Regions from separate parts of the Homo sapiens genome. Here region 2 is linked to region 1. The links are contacts of gene promoters, found by promoter capture Hi-C in human tissues and cell types (Jung and others, 2019). All regions are on one chromosome and are shown on one strand. Each heading gives the region's core, a stretch centred on a gene start or on the middle of the fragment in contact. The rest is flanking DNA. Distances are from core to core; before and after follow the strand shown. Region 1 holds the start of ATP10B (ATPase phospholipid transporting 10B (putative)). Region 2 overlaps ATP10B (ATPase phospholipid transporting 10B (putative)).

Region 1 (3,369 bases), core at 630-3,129:
AGCAAAAGCCTCTGTCTACCATTGCTTCTTTAATTGACTAGTTTGGGCAGCAAGAATACAAAAGCTAGACATGACACACTGTGTAAAAATCAGGAATGAAAAGCATGATGTGGTCAATAAGAAATGCAAATACATACAAAAATGCTAAATTGCCTTAGTGTAGAAAGATTGCCTGCTGGAAATAGGAACTATAAGTAAAACTCTGTGAGTGTGATTTTTAAAATATGATTTATTACAAAATTCCAGCAGCCAAACAAAAGAAAGATAGTCCCTCTAATAAAAACTGAACATAGCATTTCTTATCTATTATTTGTTTATTAGGGTTCTAATTAGCCAGACAGTGTCACTTAATTTCAACACATTTTATAAATAATTTGCCATATGTCTGTTAGTATTTACGATTTCCAGGCAGTTTGGAAAATGAACATATTTGAGGACTCTCTATTCATTGGTTAGCATGAAAACCCAAGGGATGCTACAGACACATTTGTTCCTAAATTGCATGTGCCTCTCTCTTTACCAGGAAAGTGATAATGGGAAAGAGCTGGTCTTAGGAGAAAGACCAGTGATGGAAAATATACTAGTCTTAGGAGAAAGACAATGTGGTTTGAGGTCCCATGTTCACCACCAAATTCCTGTTTGGCTTTGAGCAATTGTATTCACTTCTCTGAGCTTCAGCATTCTCCTCCATGGCACAAGGGGGCTTCACTAAATAACCTCCAGTTACCCACTAGTGCAATATTCTGCAATTTAACCGTATCTGTGATTCTAGACCACACTCGTCCCTAGAAGCCAGAGCACTCTGAGTGAAGGGAAGTAAAGGAACAGGGACTTAAGCATTCTTCTCTTTAGCAGATGGAGAATTTTGAAATGCCAACTCGCTCTTTTAAAAATTCTAGACTGTCTAAAGCATAGGCAAATTTCATGTTCTTAAAAATTCCTAGCTTGTGTCTTACACACACAGCGATGCAGATTTTAGATGGTGTGGGTGTTTCTTCTCTTGTAAAATGTTTCCTATGTCCATGTTTCTTCTTGGTATTCTGATAAGATCTGTAGGTACATACAAAGTTCACAATTACTCTACCAACCAACCAAAATCTTATGTAAAGATTTTCATGAAGTTAGTATGTTCACTTCTTTCCAACACCTTTTATTCCTAAGTTTGGTAATATTTCTTTTTTTTACTACCCTTAAAATCAACTTACTGCTCATTCTACCTTCTCTTTTATTTATGGACCCATCAATAATTATCCATCAATACAGCAACTTGCTCATGACATTTATGCCAATTAGTTGAGTTGTAGGTAACTTAATAAAAGGATTATACATGAAAATCTCATTTTAGGGTATGAATCGAAGCTATCAATAAGCCCATTACTAATTCTGATTTTCTGTAAGTTTGCACCATTCACATAATCTGCCACTATAATATATTGGTCCCACTTTCCTTATTTTGTATAATCAAACAGTAATCAATAAAAACTATGACTACTGCAAAATGAGACTTCTGAAGCTTTGAGGGCAAATTCATCATCAGCATGCATATAAAAGTCACTGTAGAGAGTCTTTTCTTTCTTAAGTGCCCTTGAAACCCAGCAGCTGAATCATATTTCAGGCCCCCCAAAGAGAACTGCAAGGTTATAATTGTCTCACACTTAATTACATGCATTACCAAAGGTAGATGGACAAAGTCATTTTGTACCATGCGTAGAGAATAAAAATCACCATGAATTTTGATATTGCTGGCTCATTGATTCACAGGAAGTAGAAATTTATGCAAGAACCATGTCTAACAATGTAAATGTTCAGCCAAGTCGAAGAACACTGCCTTCACTGTTCTGGGACTCGGCCTCACATTCACAGACTTGCTATTCTTCTCTTTCACTCTTGGGCCTAGCGAGGCAGCTTATTTTTCCTTTTTCTTTCATTGGTCACAGTTATTTCTTTTCAGTGTGTCATCTTCTCTAAGTTTCTGAGGGAGTGTTAGCTTGAGGCCTTGCCTTGACATAATCAGATATAATCAGAAAAATGAAAAATTCCATAGGAAAGAGAACTATTTTAGCCAAGGTGTGCGAGAGAAATACCGCCACTTTCAAGCACTGTTTTCTTCTACTGGAGTCTGCTCAATAGGGACGTCAGCTTTGCTGGGGTAAGTAAAAGCATCCTGGCCTTAACCTATATAATGGGGGAGTAATTGCCTCTTAGAATCATCAAGTCTAAGTTCTGAATTAGGCCCAGGATATGACTACTTTTCTTTACACTGCATTTGAAATTTCATTTGGCTTTCTGGGTGCGAGATCCACATTTCTTTTCTAACAGAATGTTTTATTTTTCGTCAATTGATTTCATTATGATAAGCTGATGGCAAATGCTACTTCCTCACTCAACAGGGCTTGCAGTCTGAATGTGCCTGAATACATTTTATGATAAATAATATATCCTGCTATCCTGCATTCATCCAGTGCAGCCTGAGGAAGCAGATGGAGTTACAGCCTTCTTCTCAAAGCAGAAAGAAACTATAGCTTTGAGGAAGAGAATGAGATCATTACATGGCTTCCCAATTTCATCTTGATAAACTCTGAAGCTGCCATATTGCAGTAGTTTTCAACTATAGGTGGGAAGCTTGACTTTCCTTTGAGTTCAAAGGAGAAAACTGTTGCTTAAAGAAAAATGTGTTTTTTCCCTAAGTATGAGTTACTCCTTCCAGAAAAAAAATAAAAAAGCCCCATGCATGCAGGTCTGTGATGAATACATTTAGGACAGTCCTGTGGCCTGCTATTAAGGCTGGAGTGACACTATCCCTAACCCTAAGGTGAAAAGTAATGTTAAAAATAAAAATTATACTGAGCTGCTAGTTATTTTGCCTACAGGAGTGCATGCCTGTGTCTGGTGGAACTTGGTTTTTCTCTGAATTTGCCAGGCAATTTTCTCTGAATTTGCCAGGTAGGCAGAGGAGAATTTGAAAACTGTAGAGAGGAGCTTGACCTCCCAAAGCCAATCTGGCACTCTGCTACTTCCTTCTTCCACAGTTTCTTCTCTGTTTCCAGATCTTGCAAATGTACAGTCAAGACTGCTTGGAGTATTATTCCATTAACAGACATACAGTTACATTAAGCCATTAATCAGGCAGATCACAGATGTTGTTTTCTGTCTAGATGTTACTATAATTACTCTTAATAACACCCACTGAGTTTGTCATTTCATCCATTGATGACTTTTTAAAAAATTCTTGGAAAATTCATTTCTTACAGCCTAATTATATGGATTTAAGGGTTCAGGATCTCTCCTCAGGTTTTCATCATGTATTTTTTAAAGAGTATAGCAGTATAACATCACATATGGGTGGATTAATAGGCTCTTGAGAAACTG
Region 2 (3,369 bases), core at 332-2,831, 48 kb after region 1:
AAATAGCTTCTTTAAGACACACTTAATTCAGATTTAACAAGACAATTAAATTTAACAAGATGTTGTTAAATACAAGTGATTGTTTAATGTGGATACGCTGAGGAGCTGCCATGCAGGAGACACACATTATTATTAATTACTGCTAAATTATTTTTGTCATCAGCACATAAATTTCAACATTTCTTATCAGATTAGTATACTTCATGTGCAGAATCCTAAAAATGATACATAAACAATGATATATAGTCTTTAAAGCTCTTCTTTCTCCAACAAGGAGAATAAAAGCAAACACATGTAATATATAGACACATACAATGTGCCAAGCACTATTCTAAACACGTCACAAATTTAGTTGACCCTTGAATAGCACAGGTTTGAGCTGCACGGGTCCATGTATGCACAGCTTTTTTTTGGCCAAATACAAATTGAAAATACAATATTTGAGGGAACCCATGTATCTGGAAGGCCATTTTTTGGTACACATAATTCTGCAATACTGACAGCAGGACTTTGGTATGAATGGATTTTGGTGGTGGGGGGTTACTGAAACCAATCTCTTGCATATATGCAGGGACAGCTGTAATCCAACTAGCCTTCACAATAACATCATGAGGTGCTACTGTTTTTTATTTCTATTTTATTTATAAGGAAAAGTGAGTCATAAGATGCACACATATCCCAAGGTCCAACAGTTGTGAAGTAATGGAACCAAGATTTGAACTCAAAATGACTGAATCTGGAGCTCACAGTCCCCACTGTGATCATACTCTCTGCAAGATGATTGCAAATTTGCAAATGTGTAGTTTTCAAACTCCAGTCTAGTTTGATACTAAAGGGACATGGGTCTTTGGATCTATATGAACCTGGGTTAGAATCCTAATTTACCAGCTATATGACTATGGGCTCATAAGCCTGTTTTCCCCCTCTGGAAAATGTCAGTACTCATCCATTCTCACATGTAAGATAATGCACGTGAAGATCCTAGCACAGGAGCTGACACATAGTATGAACTCAAGTTCATTTATTAGATATTTATAGAACACTCTCTATATTCCACCCCAGAAGTAGACACTGAGGAACAAATGATGAACAAAACAGTACAACATAGTTCATCTATTTATCACATACACACATATGAGTATACAATTGAGACCAGACAACTGCTGAGAAGGAGAAGTGCATACTACAATAAGACTGCAAAAAGGGGACTTTGACAAAGATGAAAAATGTTTCCTAAGGAAGTGATGACTACACAACACACAACCCTCATCCCTTATAGAAGTAGCTATTTGGCCAAATAGATCTGCTTATCTCTATGTATGGGTGCAAGGGTAGGACATTTGACTTAGTTTTGTTTTTGTTTTGTATTTTTGCACTGAATCTGCTCTGGAACACAGGAGGACATCAGGGCACAGTAACTCCAGTTCCAGTCAGGAACTGGAGTCAGAAATTTGATTTCTGCCTCCCCATGAATCCTACAGGGGCAACGTTGAAAAAAAAAATCTGTGTTGACCTCCTCTAGCATAGTCTCTGACATCTAAGAGGCACTCAATAAATACCAGTTAAATAAATAACAAATATAAATCATGGGGAAAAGATTCTGAGATTGCATAGCACCTCACATTATCCAGAGCTCTTTCTCAGTATTAATTAAGGAGAGTTTAGTGGTAGGACCACCAGGTTTAAATTATTCTACCAAGTACAAGCTATGTGACCTTGAACAAGTAACCTCTTTTTATTTATTTTATTTTTTTGAGATGGAGTCTTGCTCTGTCACCCAGGCTGGAGTACAGTGGTATGATCTTGGCTCACTGCAACCTCCACCTCCGGGGTTCCAATGATTCTCCTGCCTCAGGCTCCCAAGAAGCTGGGATTACAGGCATGCACCACCACGCCCGGCTAATTTTTGTATTTTTAGTAGGGACGGGGTTTCACCATGTTGGCCAAGCTGGTCTTGAACTCCTGACCTTGTGATCTGCCCTCCTCAGCCTCCCAAAGTGCTGGGATTACAGGTGTGAGCCGCCGTGCCTGGCCCAAGTAGCCTCTTCCTATGCCTCAGTTGATGCCTCTAAAAAGTAGGTTACAATGAAGCTTAAATCAAATAATGTGTAAAGCATTTAGCACAGTTCCTGGTACGTGATAATCTTCATGGCAATGTTAACTGGGGTAGTGGTCAACAGCAGTGATAGTGTGGTTTCTTAATCCATATAGCACAACCTAAACAGTTGATGACAACATCCTCCTTCAACAAAAAGGAAAAAAACTGAGGTTTAGAGATCTAAAGTTATATAGCTAGTCAAGCCCAGGTCAGCTGGTTCCAAGCCCACCATGCCAAGTGAGCCAACAGAAGCCTTTTGAACAGGAGCATGTCACGGAGAAAGCCCATGATAGCAAAAGTCTGCCCAGGGAGCATGTGCAGGAGAGTGAGTTCAGCTGGAAGTAACTCCTTCCTTCTGAGCAAGCAGCTGACAACCTTATGTTGTCCCCCAATTATCTCCCCTCCTGCCTTTTTCTGGAATGGGGATGGGGGATGAAGAATCGTGAAACTGAAGAGAAACCTCCCACTTGAGCTCAGCAAGAGAAAGATGAGAAGAAGCCAGACAAAAGCATCCCCACACACACTCTGATACTTTGAATCCTGACACAGCAGCGGTTGCAAGTCTGAAACCAAGCTGCCCCCTAATGTACAGTCTCCACATTCAGGAGGCTGAAGCCATTAGCAACTAACTTTAGGCTGGAAGAAATGGAAAAGAACTCAAGTGCCTTAAGCAGTAGGTATCAGGCTCTCCATGTGAACTTAGCAGTGTCCCTTACCATGCATTTTGAACTTGTCTAAGTCAGGGTTTCTCCCCTTCAGTTCTACTGATGTTTTGTTGGGGAGATGACTGGTGGGAAATGTTCTGTGCATTCACCATAGATGTTTAACAATATCGCAGGCATTGTCTCATCTAGATATCGGTAGACTTCCCCAGGTGCGACAACCAAAAATGCCTCTAGACATTGCCAAATGTCCTCTGGGGGACAAAATTGCTTCCAGTTGAGAACCACTGATATAGGTTGGCTTGAAAACAGGCAATGGTTTTAAGTTAGGCGTGTTCTTGATTTTTTCCTCAGGTAATGTCAGCTTACAAATTCTTTACAAATTGGGACAAATCAGGAAGCCCTTAGCCCATCCCGTTGACTACTGTGGAAGAAGGCAGTCATGAGGTGGTCATCTTCCTCAGCTTATGTTAGGCTTTTATGCCCCATCTATATTTTTAGGAAATTGTTTCTCCGCACCTAATGTGAACTGGTATTAACCATTTCCAGAGAGGCAATCTGAAGGGAAAAGTTGTCGCAGAAATCCCTTCAACGTCTCAACCAACACCT

Evidence for each region. Contacts are between HindIII fragments. The study calls those that stand out against the background at their distance.
Region 2: a contact is called between a fragment that was not itself captured here and the fragment with the promoter of ATP10B in region 1, in 1 of the 25 tissues and cell types used here (dorsolateral prefrontal cortex).

Annotation. Positions count from the first base shown.
Region 1 is chr5:160,850,721-160,854,089 of GRCh38, reverse strand. It overlaps ATP10B (ATPase phospholipid transporting 10B (putative)), which reads left to right and starts at 1,879. Exons shown (of 26, transcript NM_025153.3): 1 at 1,879-2,149. The HindIII fragment of the contact is 6,864 bases long and covers 1-3,369 here.
Region 2 is chr5:160,802,061-160,805,429 of GRCh38, reverse strand. All of the region lies in intron 1 of ATP10B (ATPase phospholipid transporting 10B (putative)), which reads left to right. Among named protein-coding and RNA genes, the nearest start is that of ATP10B, 48 kb to the left of the region's middle. The HindIII fragment of the contact is 5,635 bases long and covers 1-3,369 here.